Linked DNA regions of Homo sapiens: region 1 is linked to region 2. The links are contacts of gene promoters, found by promoter capture Hi-C in blood cells and fetal thymus (Javierre and others, 2016). All regions are on one chromosome and are shown on one strand. Each heading gives the region's core, a stretch centred on a gene start or on the middle of the fragment in contact. The rest is flanking DNA. Distances are from core to core; before and after follow the strand shown. Region 1 holds the start of TMEM214 (transmembrane protein 214). Region 2 holds the start of CCDC121 (coiled-coil domain containing 121).

Region 1 (6,596 bases), core at 627-3,126, 600 kb before region 2:
AGGTTGGAGTGCAGTGGCACAATCTCGGCTCACTGCAACCTCCGCCTCCAAGGTTCAAGCGATTCTCCTGCCTCAGCCTCCCAAGTAGCTGAGATTATAGGCCTGCGCCATCATACCTGGCTACTTTTTTGTATTTAGTAGAGATGGGGTTTCACCATGTTGGCCTGACTGGTTTCGAACTCCTGACCTCAGGTGATACCCACCTCGGCCTCCCGAAGTGCTGGGATTACAGGCGTGAGCCACGGCGCCCGGGGAACCAATGAAAATGCTATTTCTCAGAACCTATCTCAGCTGCCGTCTCCTTCGGGAAGCTAAACTCCTTCCTAAGGAATGCATCGCTCCCTCAGCTGTTCATCCTGTAGGAATTTGGACTCTCTTAGTTCTTATCATAATACCTCAGTATGGCAGGTAGGAATCTCATCCTCACACACAGTTGTACATGAAATAGCACATTTCCTTAATTGTGATAAGTCACTTTGATTTTATCTTCCCTCATTCTCCTCTGCTGGCATGCTTCAAGGTTCTGAAGGCTCCCAGGATACTAACACCCTCCACGTGGATGTCTGAGCAGGAACCTGTCTGCAGATGCCTCAAGTCTGGGGCTCTCCATCGCTTCCCTGACACATCTGGAACTTGGGATTGACTCTTATGGTGGGAGGCAGAGCCTGTTCTTTCTCATTGCCTGGAAGGGGAAACCCGGCCCTGGCTGTCCCAGACCCCCAGACTTTTCTCAGCCTCCCATGAGAAGAACTCAGAGGCCAGGAGCGGTGGCTCACTCCTGTAATCCCAGCACTTTGGGAGGCTGAAGAGGGTGGATCACTGAGCCCAGGAGTTTGAGATCAGCCTGGGCAACACAGCAAAACCCAGTCTCTACAAAAAATACCAAAGATTAGCCGGGGGTGGTGGTGGGTCAGGTGATCCGTGGTGGGGGATCACCTGAGCCCTAGAAGTTGAGGCTGCAGTGAGTCGTGATCGCGCCACTGAACTCCAGCCTGGGCGACAAAGCAAGATCCTGTCTCAAAAAAAAAAAAAAAAATTATTCTCCATTCTCCACCTCCTACCCCAGCTCCCCAACACTCTGCCCTTTCCTCAAGCCCCCATCCTCTTCCTTGTTCTTTGGCAATAGATTTGTATAGCCCATTAAACCCGAGGTTTAATCACTAGCAACAGTAAAGCCAGCACTTTCCTAGAAGGAAGGAAGCATTTAATCTTCAATCTCTCCCTAGATATGAGGAGCACTACTTCCCTTCCATCCTTCCAGCTCTACGAGAAAGGAAAGAAAAACAGTGGCCGGGCGCCGTGGCTCACGCCTGTAATCCCAGCACTTTGGGAGGCTGAGGGGTGGGGGTGGGGTGGGTCACTTTAGGTCAGGAGTTCGAGACCAGCCTAGCCAACATGGCGAAACCCCGTCTCTACTAAAAATACAAAAATTAGCTGGGCTTGGCAGCGGGAGCCTGTAGTCCCTGCTACTCGGGACGCTGAGGCACGAGAGTCGCTTGAACCTGGGTGGCGGAAGTTACAGTGAGCTGAGATCGCGCTACTGCACTCCAGTCTGGGCGACAGAGCGCGGCCCTGGCAATCAATCAATCAATTGATCAATAAAGGAAAGAAAAACAGAAACAGTTCTACCAAGTCTCTCAATGCCGTGGCCTTCACATCGACGCTCAATGAACGTTCTCAGAAGGGAATCTCCTCTCCTCCCGGCCTCTTCGCCTGGGCGGGGGCCGCAGGCTGCCGCGGAAGCCTCTTCCCGATGCTCTTCGCTCAGGAGAGCCCGGCCCAGGAGAGGGACTACAAGTCCCAGGCTGCCTTGCGGCGGGCGCCGGGCGCCGGGCGCGCGGTCCTGCGAGGAGACGTGGCAGAGTGCGGCGCGCTCGCGCCGGACCGGAAAGCCGGGGAAGTGGCCGAGGAGGGAGGGCTGCGAGCCATGGCGACCAAGACGGCGGGCGTGGGGCGGTGGGAGGTAGTGAAGAAGGGTCGGCGGCCTGGGGTCGGCGCCGGCGCCGGCGGCCGAGGAGGCGGCAGGAACCGCAGGGCGCTCGGGGAAGCAAACGGAGTGTGGAAATACGACCTGACCCGTGAGTACCCGCCCTGCCCCGCCGCCTACCCCAGGCCTGTCCGGCAGGGTCGCAGCGAGCGGCTCCCAGAACCTGGGCGCGAGCTCGCAGGCACATCCCCGAGCGCCACGCTTGCGTTGTCTCTTTGGAGCCTCACGGGAGGCAGACAGCTCCAGGGAAGGTTGCGGTCCTCACCTCCCAGATGAGTAAACTGAGGCCCAGTGAAGTTGGATACCTTGGCCAGGGTCATGTGTCAGAGGGGCTAGGATTCCGGTCCTCAGACTCTCAGTTCACTGCACACACTCTCCCAGCTGCCCAGGGCCCTAGCTGGTCTCTCTGGGCAGGTGTCTGAGCTTTGAAGAGGTACTGTGGATCATTATACACGGTGCCCCCTCTTTAAGTAACCAGCAGGTCATGGAGGAAGGGACAGGAGGCCCAGCAGTGGGAGAAATGACCGCCACACACTCAACACTCACCAGGAATTATAAGTGACACCTGGTTCTTCCACTGAGGAGTGGAGAAAGATTGCCACTTGTTGATTATAGAGTTGTCATGTCGGAACCAAGAGGCGTTAGGGTAGGACCAAGATGGAAAAAGCTTGTCTTCCCAGACTAGTAGCCACTCACTGAATAAGGCAAACCTCTATATCCAACCTCTCTGCTTGTTCCTACATACTCTGATTTGTCTAATGAAGAACTGCCCCATCTTTATGAAAGAGCCCATAGACTCAAGAGCTGTAATGAAAGAAGCTACCAGGAGAACAGCCTGCCCTGCTCCTTAAGCAGTCCAAGAGGAAGGGGCTTTGAGACAGGCTCTTCCCTGGAGATGAATTAGGTGGCAGTGTGGGGAAAGGGACCACTGATAGGTGAGGCCTTGGGGACTCAAGGGTGGCCTGCCTTTCTCTACCTATCTTCACCCCAGCTGCAATCCAGACCACAAGCACCCTTTATGAGCGGGGCTTTGAGAATATCATGAAGCGGCAGAATAAGGAGCAGGTCCCACCCCCTGCTGTGGAACCTAAGAAACCAGGGAACAAGAAGCAGCCAAAGAAGGTGGCAACTCCTCCCAACCAAAACCAGAAGCAGGGCCGCTTCCGCAGCCTGGAGGAAGCACTGAAAGCTGTGAGTGTGCCTAGACATGAGACGCAGAAAGAATGGGGGCTTGAGATTTAGAGAAGATGAGAGGAGGGGGAGGTGGATGGGCAGCTGAGATCCTATGGGATTTGAAACACTTTAAGGGTTGAGAGGAGTTCAGGAAAAGATGGAAACCCCAGGGGAACAGAATGCCTGCACTTAGAATAGAAAGGAAATGGAAAATTTATAGGGAAACATGGATTGGTAAGAGGAAAGCCTTGAAGACCCAGGAACACCAGGGAGGAGATGGAGAAACTGGTTATGATTCTCTGTCCTATGGAAATACTGATCTTTCATTTTCTGTCTTGTCCTCTGTTTTCCTCTTTTTTTTTTTTTTTTTTTGAGTTAGAGTCTCCCTCTGTCGCCCAGGCTGGTGTGCAGTGGTGTGATCTCAGCTCACTGCAACCTCTGTCTCCTGCCTCAGCCTCCCAAGCAGCTGGGATTACAGGCGTCTGCCACCACGCCTGGCTAATTTTTGTATTTTTAGTAGAGATGGGGTTTCACTACGTTGGCCAGGCTGGTCTTGAACTCCTGACCTCAGGTGATCCGCCCACCTTGGCCTCCCAAAGTGCTGGGATTACAGGCGTGAGCCACCGCGCCTGGCCCTCTGTTTTCCTCTTGAACATGTGGAGGGCCTGAGAGGATAGGGCCTGAGATCAGCATTTTCAGCTGTCCTGTTCCATTCTTAAAGATGTAGGTACAGCAGAATTGCAGCATTCCATGTTCTTATGCTTAAAAATGGAATCCCTTCTTCCTACTGCCACCTAGTTCAACCATTTTCCCACCCCTACCCCATTTCTTTACTCCCTCACTCACAACTCGCCATGGTGGGGGGTTGGGGGATTGTCCCTGGCAGCTGGATGTGGCAGACCTGCAGAAGGAACTGGACAAGAGCCAGAGTGTGTTCTCTGGAAACCCATCCATATGGTTGAAGGACCTGGCCAGCTATCTCAACTACAAGCTACAAGCTCCTCTAAGTGAACCCACGCTGAGCCAGCATACTCATGGTAAGTCCTTCCAGCTTCCTCAAGCTCAGACAAGTTCAAATAAATTCAAAAAGGGTGGTATAACAGATCCCAGTGCCCCACACTGTCCTGATTTCCATGGGTGATTTGGGCTGGTCTCAAATCATCGTGACTGTGAATGTTTCTGGGCCTCATTCTGTGATCCTCCCTCTGGGCCTCCTCAGAGGAAGGATCCCAGCCTCAGTGCAGGGGCCTTTGCCTCCACTCACCATTCCCAGGGAGAGCACCACAGTTCTCAGAGCTGATGGGTGTCTGGTCCTAGCACTCACATTGAGGCCTATGGGCCTTAGATTATCCCTACAGCCTGGTGAGCCGGGAGCTACGTGGGATCATCCGAGGGCTGCTGGCGAAGGCAGCAGGGTCTCTGGAGCTCTTTTTTGACCACTGTCTGTTCACCATGTTGCAAGAGCTGGATAAGACACCAGGTGAAAGGGGCACGGGAGGGATGACCATCTTGGGAGCCTCCTCCTTTTTTTCCTGCTTCCAGTACCACTCAGTGGTTCTGTTTCCAGCAGAGAAATGTGCTAACCTTAACACTTTTTGGAAAGTGTGGAGGAAGTTAGGAGTCAGTGGACCTGGGGCCTGGGCTCACCGCTGACAAATGGGAGATTTCAGGTTTGGGATGCCAAATAATGTGAGTAGGTGTGAGAATGTGTATCTCTCCAGGGGAGTCACTACATGGTTACCGCATCTGTATCCAGGCCATCCTGCAAGACAAGCCCAAGATTGCCACGGCAAACCTAGGCAAGGTGAGCTCTCAGTGATGGTGGGGATGCTAGGAAGCTAGGACTGGGGAGGCTGGGCAGAATCTATGTTGTTGGACTCAGGTTTGGGATAGTGGAAGACCTGTAAGCCTAGTAATAATGGGTAACACTATTAGCACCTATCCTGTGTGTGTGCTCTGGAAACATAGGAGCAAGGTACTGCTATTATTTCCCATTTTTATAGATGAAAAGATTGAGCCACAGAGGAGTTCAGTAACTTTCCTAGGCTCAGTCATCCAGTAAATGGCAGAGTATGGGCGAAGCCCACAAACAGAACCTGCACCACGTGGCCATAGTGCTCCACTCTTGCTCGGCCTGTCCTCCCTCTTCCAGTTGACATCTCCCTTCCCTCCTGGCTTTGGGGGGTGCTCCTGGTGTTTTGTCCTATCCCAATCTGCCTTCCCCACCGGTCTCCTCAGTTCCTGGAACTGCTGAGGTCCCACCAGAGCCGACCAGCAAAGTGTCTCACCATCATGTGGGCCCTGGGTCAAGCAGGTTTTGCCAACCTCACCGAGGGACTGAAAGGTAACAGGGAAATAGGGAAGAAAGAGGGAGGGTCTCGGAGCTGGAAAACTCCTCTTTGATGCCCCCAGTAGGTGCAAGCCTGAGGCCTCCCTCGTGACTTTTACCCCTGCAGTGTGGCTGGGGATCATGCTGCCTGTGCTGGGCATCAAGTCTCTGTCTCCCTTTGCCATCACATACCTGGATCGGCTGCTCCTGTGAGTAATGGGAGGGCAGCAAGGGGAAGGCTCAGGGTGTCCCAAGTGGCTGTTATAGCAAAATGGGAGGCTATGATCTTGGTCTCCATGGATATGAGGAAAATCAGGACCAGCTTCTCCCACCACCTTAGAATGTGATGGTGAGGAAGGAAGAAGAGGGAGCTATTAAGGGCTGGCAGATGGGGTAGAGTTTATACCCTTTTTCCTAGATGTTGGCTTAGCTGGGGTCATGGCCAAAACAGCTGGCATGGGTGGTGGTGTCCAGCGAGCCTGTTTCTTCATCCCCACAGGATGCATCCCAACCTTACCAAGGGCTTCGGCATGATTGGCCCCAAGGACTTCTTCCCACTTCTGGACTTTGCCTATATGCCGAACAACTCCCTGACACCCAGGTAGGACTGCTCTGGGGCACACCTGCTGAGAAGGGACCACAGCACCAGAACCACACTACATATTCCCGTCTCTCCTTCCCCAGCCATCCTAGATCTGAGATTTGCAACCTGGAAGTTCAAGAGTAGGTTTCAAGGGAACAGTGACCCCTTGAAATTATATGGACCCTTGAGTGTGATTGGCATATGGGCATTTTCTTAGGGATAGGGTCCATGGCTTTCAACAGATTTCCAAGGAGTCTCTGAGTAAAAAGATTCAGAGCCATTGCAAGGTCCTCAGTGGCTATTCCCCACAGGCAGGCATGGGCTCTGAAGCAAGCAAAAGGTTCATATCATACAGCTCCACTTATAGCTTATGCCTGTCTTTCCTCCCCACCCCACCCAGCCTGCAGGAGCAGCTGTGTCAGCTCTACCCCCGACTGAAAGTGCTGGCATTTGGAGCAAAGCCGGATTCCACCCTGCATACCTACTTCCCTTCTTTCCTGTCCAGAGCCACCCCTAGCTGTCCC
Region 2 (6,544 bases), core at 3,315-5,814:
ACTACTGCACTCCAGCCTGCGTGACACAGTGAGACCGTCTAAAAAAATACAAAGAATATTCTGCACATCTCCTTAAAAGAGAACATTTTAGAAATTTACTCTTGCTTCATCTCTCTCTTCTTATAGCAAATCCATTAGCAAGTCCTGCCTACCACCAACTACATTTTGAATCTGTTCACTCTACTTCTGCCATTCCAATCTAAGCCATCATTACCTCTTGCCTAGACTACAGTATCTTCGTAATTGGTTTCCTTCCACTTTTTTCTGGCTTGGATACACTCCACATAACAGTTGTAGTTTTTAAAATTAGGTAAATCAGACCTCATTCACCTGCTAAAGGCCCTCGGTGCCTAAACTCCTGCTAGCCTTAATAGCCTCATCTTCCTTTCCTCCACTCATGTTCTGTGACCATTCCTCAACTATACTTTACATACACACCTTTCTGTTCCTTGAACCTACCAAGCTTATTGCCATCTTAAGGCATTTGCATTCACTGTTGCCTCTGCCTAGAATAGTTTCTTCCCCAGTTTTTGCATTGTAGGCTTCATTTTAGCAATCATAGGTCTTAAATTTCACCTCAGAGGTCTTTTCCATCTAAACTCACTTTCTGTAACATAACCCTGTGTAATTTTCTAAATAGCAAAGCAGACAAAATGCAGATTGAAATCTTAGTTGGCCAACTTGCTGCTTACTTAGAGGTATGGATTTCAAGGTATGAAATCAGTTATCATTCAACTTTTAATGTCTTCAAGCCCTCACTCTGGAAGGGACAGCCACAAGCAGTATACCATATCCATTACCTGGGATGATAAGTAAAAATGAACTGAGATCAGGTGGAAGTTACCCACTCTTGAATTAGATAATTGGGACACCAGTGGCAGGAGGGGAATTAACAGAACTAATATGCTTCCTACTTTCCAACTTTTTATCAGCCTTAGAAATACATTGTCTTAGGGTTTTTACGTCCACAGAGACTAAGCCTTCAAGTTTGTCTTGGATACCATGCTTTCCTTGTTCAGTGTTTCTGTATTTTCAGCTCACAAATTGAGATTTAGGTTAAAGTACCTGTATGCTAAAATCCTAATTTCTGCATTAAAACTAGTTTTTATTATTTGCACATGTGAATAAGACATTTAAGAGTGGTAACAGAAGAGTGATGAAGTAGAAAATGTGTTACATTGGAACAGTAATAAAATCAGTGGATAAATGTTTTTATTTAATAACATTGTTTAATAAAAAACTACATATTTAACAGAAAAGTTGTTAAAGCTACAAGGTAAAGGCACATTGAAGGAGAATGCTTTTTAAATCCAATTTTCAGGGAATTCACTTTACATGTAAATAAAGCAGAAAATGCAGGAAAATTATTTTGAAGTTTTTCATCACTTAACAATTTCTGGGAAACAAAGTTCATCCTATTTTCCCATAGAGGACCCCTGTTAAAATATAAGATTATATTCCCCTATACTAGGATTCAGCATTCAAATAAATCACTAGTCCAACTTCAATGTCGTAGAACCCAAAAAAAATATAACTATCCTAAAAATATATAATTTAAAATATAATTTATAGTTATACTAAATGGGAATAAACATATGGCACACATTAATTACAAAGGATACTTCATGTACTAGAAAGTGCACCTGTAAGAAAATTAATAAATGACCTAAAACTAAAGCATTTAGGATAACAAACATCATTTTACTTGCTATCTTTTAGAATGCTGCTAGGGAAATCGATGGCACTTAAAAAAAAAGTTGTCCAAATATTTCAACTTTTTTTGGATACGTTTTCCTGAAATAAGTGGAGGCATTCAGTCACCTCAATGCTACAGGTGTTTCTTCAAATAAAACATTTTCAAAAGTAAGAGCTGACCTAATATATGTCTCCTTCATCTTTTCTTACCTTCTCAAACTTGTAGGGGCTTAGCATCAGATGAAAGGTCACTCTGCCTAGCACTTACTGGACTTGCTGTTATCAGAATGCTTTTTCACTCATGAGAAAACTAGAAGGAGCTACCTGGTCACTGGCACAAACTCACAAAGAGCTTGTAAAAACTGCTTTTGTCTGCTAAGTTGGTCAAAAGGAATGAGGATAAACTGGCAGAACGCTATTCAAAGTCTATTTGGAATGCTATCCTTAAAGGTACTTTCTCTATAAAGAAATACAATTTAGCTAGATGAAATAAATCACAACTGTTTTCACTTCCTTAGGTTGGTTTCCTTTAGCTAGTTTGATGTATGGTAAATGGCTAGGTTAGGGTCATGTGTTAGGTTAACTGGAGGTTTGTGGAATAGCTTATTAACGAGTATTTAAAGAAAAAGCTAGTTAAGGGAAGCTGGTTACCAAATATCTAGTAGGACTGTTGGATAAAACCATCTAATCCTTCACTCCAACACATCATGATGGAGATTTTACAATAGCAATCTGGAATCCAACAGCCTTTCTAACCAGGTTAATGTAGCACTTAAGAGTACTTGCTCCAGTTCTTATTTAATCAGTGTTATTTTAGAAGTTACTTTGGATTAATCCTTGATTTGGTGCCTTGGGGAAGACTGGGTGTGGTCTTTGGAACATCCTGTCTATTTAGGCACTGATTATGACTTCCTTGCAGTCTCTGCCTCGCCTGGATTAAGGACTCCAGATACCACTGTTCCTGCTGCAGCTGCTGCTTCCTGTTTTCTAAGTGGCTTTGAGTAGCCGTTAGTTTCTGGGCTTGCTCAATTAGCTGCAGTAATTCCTTCTTGAACTGCTGGTTCTCTCTGTTGATGCCACAGGAGTATTCAAAAATAAACCGCTTTGCTGCCAACTTCAAGGCCTGGGCCTTCATATTAAGCTCTCTTCTTTTTCTCTTTCCCAGTAGCCTCCTGTCTGGCTCGCTCAGTTGTTTCTCCAGTAATCTTTTCTCCTGGAGGAGCTGGGCCTGTACTTCCCGTGTCTTTGAAGCTGTCTCAGCTTGGACTTTCTTTGTCTCCTCCTGTAATGTCTGTATTTCTTTCTCCTGCTTTTCCTTTAATATAGCAATGTCCCTCATTGCCTGCAACTTCCGCTTCAAACTGGATTGGATATTTTCCTTTTGCAAGAGCGCTGTTTTAAGCACTGAAATTTGTTCTGCATATCTGGAGGCTGATTCTTGTCTTCTTCGTTCAATCTCTCCACTTTTTTGTAAATAGCTGTTCCATACCTTCTCAGGTTGCTCTGTGTACTCTTCAGTTTTGTTAGTCAGGTATTCCAGAAAGAATCTGTTTTCAGCCTGGACAAGTAACTTTTCTCGGTGTAGCTCCCTGGATTCCTCCAGTAGCTGTTTCCGCTGGGTTTGAGCTTGTTTTATATGCTTGTTCAGATCCGTCATTTCCGCCACTATCTTTTCTTTAAGCCTTGTCTCTACCTTTGTTAGCTTCTCTGGCTTGACAAAATTATTTATTAGACTATGATACGGTGGAAGGAGCCTTCTGGGGCCCTCAGCAAACCTGAAAGAACAAACGAGACATTCCTCTGTCAGTTAATGAAACTTTAGGAAGTAAGTGCACAACTGTCCTTCATTCATACAAGAGAATATTTCTGAGCACCAGAATGTTCCAGACATTATGCAAGGTGTGGGGAATCCAGCTAGTGGTAAAGGATGAGGAATGTAGCTCGTCATTTACAACGTGCATTCACTACAACCCTGGGAGGTATTACCTCAGTTTTAAAAAAGGAGAAAACAGGTTCAGAGAGTTTAAGTGACTTGCCCATGACTCACACCACTAGCAAGTGGCAGAGCCTGGGTATTAAAGCCAGATCTTATGACTTACTGAACACTGTTTGCAGCTACAAAGGGTCACAGAAACAGACTGGGTGGTCAGGAGTAGAAATAATTTTCTAGGCTCTTTCATCATCTTTCCTGAGTTTCTGAGGGACCTTCAGTGACTGGAGGGGAGGAAGCTCCCCTCCAGTACCTACTTGCACCTGGAATCCAAGCATTCATCCTGAAGGTCACGGCAACTGTGTAGTTCACTGAGGGTGACTGCCAAGGAATGAGCGCTAGCATCAGGAACCTGCGTCTGCAACTCGCGGGAACAATGTGCAAGTGTGGAAAGCTCCCGTAGTTTATTCGTTCGGTGCTCAAAGGGTCTCGGTGCTGCCCAGCAACCCTGGAGACTGCACCCTGCTCCAGTCCCGGCTGGTCCAGCCCTGAACTGTTTAACCGCCTCGGCTACCGAATAAGCCCGAGCAGCCGGTCCTCCAGTGGCTCCGCTCCCCGTTCTCTGTGGGCTCAAAATGACAGGCATGCTCCTCGTTTTCTTGCTGTGTGAGCCCTGCCCTCGGGACCCCATCTCTTCTGGCCTTCCTCCGGGAGACAAAAGCCCTCCCAGGCTGCAGAGATCAGCGCCCTTTTCCTAGCTCCCTTCAGCCTTCCTCTCGCTTGCTCAGCGCCCCCACTTCCTCGCCACTGTCACTAGTTGACTCATCAGCCCTGCCCGACGCTAAGAAGATGCCCTGGCAACCGCCGCGCCCCTCACCCGCTCCTTTCTGACGCTGTGGTGGTTTTCGTTCGCAGCCCAGAACATTGCGGAAGTTTCTCTACCCATGCGGTGTCTCTATGGTCGGGTGGGTGGGGCCAGGAGGAAGATGGCGGCGTCCGCAGCTGCCGCTGAGCTCCAGGCTTCTGGGGGTCCGCGGCACCCAGTGTGTCTGTTGGTGTTGGGAATGGCGGGATCCGGGAAAACCACTTTTGTACAGGTGACGTACACAGCATGGGTGTAGTAGGGGAGCGCAAAAGGTTGCCTCCGGCAGGCGGAAGGCCAGGAAGAAAGGGAGGGAAGAGGATTTGGAGGGTACCGGCGCATGGCTTTCGGGGGCTTCCCATCAACTTTAGTTCCTTCCCCGGCAAAGCCTCCTCGGGCCCTAGCCAGGTTAATTAAGGCTCTCTTCTGCGCACCTTCAGGGCATACTCGGTCCAGCTTACCACGTTGTACAGGAATTGTCTTGCTGATAAAATTGCGTTTCTCGGAGGCAAGTTACAAGTAACTTTAAAGATTAATACAGTGCTAGCACACAGGTTTTGGTGAAGATTTGCCAAATATTTCTTGCACGCCTGTCATGTTCCATTCACTGGGGATATAGCGAAAATGAGGTTGACAAGATTCATTCGTGGGGCCAAATATTTAATGGAGGAGATAGAGAAAACCCACATACGAAGAATCAAAACAAGTAAACAAGTGACTACGAGTAGGGGAAGCTTTGTTAGATGGGTGATGAAGAAAGGTAGCATTTGAACTGAGAGTTGTATCTTGGAGGTGGACATGGTGGATATTTCAGGTAGAAGAAAATCTAAGTGCAATATTCTTAAGGCATGGGTGTTAAAGGAATGGAAGTTCTCTCTTGTCCCCTCTTTGTCTCCTTCCAACCCTCTCCCCATATCTCTGCAGAGGCTCACAGGACACCTGCATGCCCAAGGCACTCCACCGTATGTGATCAACCTGGATCCAGCAGTACATGAAGTTCCCTTTCCTGCCAATATTGGTGAGTAAACCAGTAACATAACTTGTGTGCAGTGCTTTAAAGAGAATGGAAAAGGCCAGGCGTGGTGGCTCACGGCTGTAATCTCAGCACTTTGGGAGGCCGAGGCAGGTAGATCACGAGGTCAGGAGTTCAAGACCAGCCTGGCCAAGATGGTGAAACTCCATCTCTACTAAAAATACAAAAAATTAGCCAGGCACGGTGGCAGGCACCTGTAATTCCAGCTACTCGGGAGGCTGAGGCAGGAGAGTTGCTTGAACCCGGGTGGCAGAGGTTGCAGTGAGCCAAGATCGTGCCACTGCACTCCAGCCTGGTCAATAGAGTGAGACTCTGTAAAGCCTCCAGCCTGCCAGTCTTCAGTGCCTTCTTTTTTCATGTTTTCTAAACTATCTACTTTCATTTCCTTTGGATTTGCTTGCATTCCTAAACAGCTTAGGTTTTTTTTTTTTTTTTTTTTTTTTTAGACAGAGTCTCTGTCACCCAGGCCAGAGTGCAGTGGCGTGATTCACAGGTCACTGCAGCCTCAACATCCCAGGCTCAAGTGATCCTCCCACCTCAGCCTCCTGCCGCTATGCTGGGCTAGTTTTGTTTTGTTTGGAGAGACAAGGCCTCTCTATGTTGCCCAGGCTGGTCTTGAACTCCTGGGCTCAAGTAATCCTCCTGCCTTGGCCTCCCAAAGTGCTGGGATTATAGGTGTGAGCCACTGTGCCCAGCCTAACTCCTTTTAAAAAATCATGTCTGCATTGCCATTGTGTTGCCTTTGTCAGTAATAGGCAATTAGTAAGAAGCATTTTTTCCCCCTTGATTTTTGCCTCCCTTTTTCTAGGCATGTTTAAGTTGCATGAAACTTTGCACTTTGTGGAGACAAAACTCTTTGCCACAACTTTAGAGCTCCTAGCCCTAACATTCTTCATGATTTACTTGGCATTTATTCTTTGTAAGGAAGGAAACCAGTGTGAAAGTGGAGGTGGTAGAAGAGAATGCTGACAGGAGAAGGCTAGAAGGCCAGTTTTACTTTCCTGGTGGTAGGGAATGTGTATGT

What was found. Contacts are between HindIII fragments. The CHiCAGO score rates a contact against its expected background, and 5 or more counts as called.
Region 1: a contact is called between the fragment with the promoter of TMEM214 here and the fragment with the promoter of CCDC121 in region 2, in 8 of 17 cell types (non-activated CD4 T cells, total B cells, naive B cells and 5 more). The highest score is 11.0, in non-activated CD4 T cells.

Annotation. Positions count from the first base shown.
Region 1 is chr2:27,031,089-27,037,684 of GRCh38, forward strand. It overlaps TMEM214 (transmembrane protein 214), which reads left to right and starts at 1,877. Exons shown (of 17, transcript NM_017727.5): 1 at 1,877-2,078; 2 at 2,979-3,178; 3 at 4,047-4,197; 4 at 4,506-4,640; 5 at 4,882-4,964; 6 at 5,399-5,504; 7 at 5,617-5,698; 8 at 5,989-6,090; 9 at 6,473-6,596. The coding sequence starts at 1,928. RefSeq lists an enhancer at 1,500-1,789. The HindIII fragment of the contact is 3,121 bases long and covers 1-2,652 here.
Region 2 is chr2:27,624,448-27,630,991 of GRCh38, forward strand. CCDC121 (coiled-coil domain containing 121) reads right to left here and starts at 4,565. Exons shown (of 2, transcript NM_024584.5): 1 at 4,503-4,565; 2 at 1,191-3,470. The coding sequence starts at 3,352. The coding sequence ends at 2,516. GPN1 (GPN-loop GTPase 1) reads left to right here and starts at 4,603. Exons shown (of 14, transcript NM_007266.4): 1 at 4,603-4,722; 2 at 5,412-5,505. The coding sequence starts at 4,612. RefSeq lists a silencer at 3,535-3,829 and enhancers at 4,278-4,337, 4,398-4,707, 4,748-4,847. The HindIII fragment of the contact is 4,758 bases long and covers 462-5,219 here.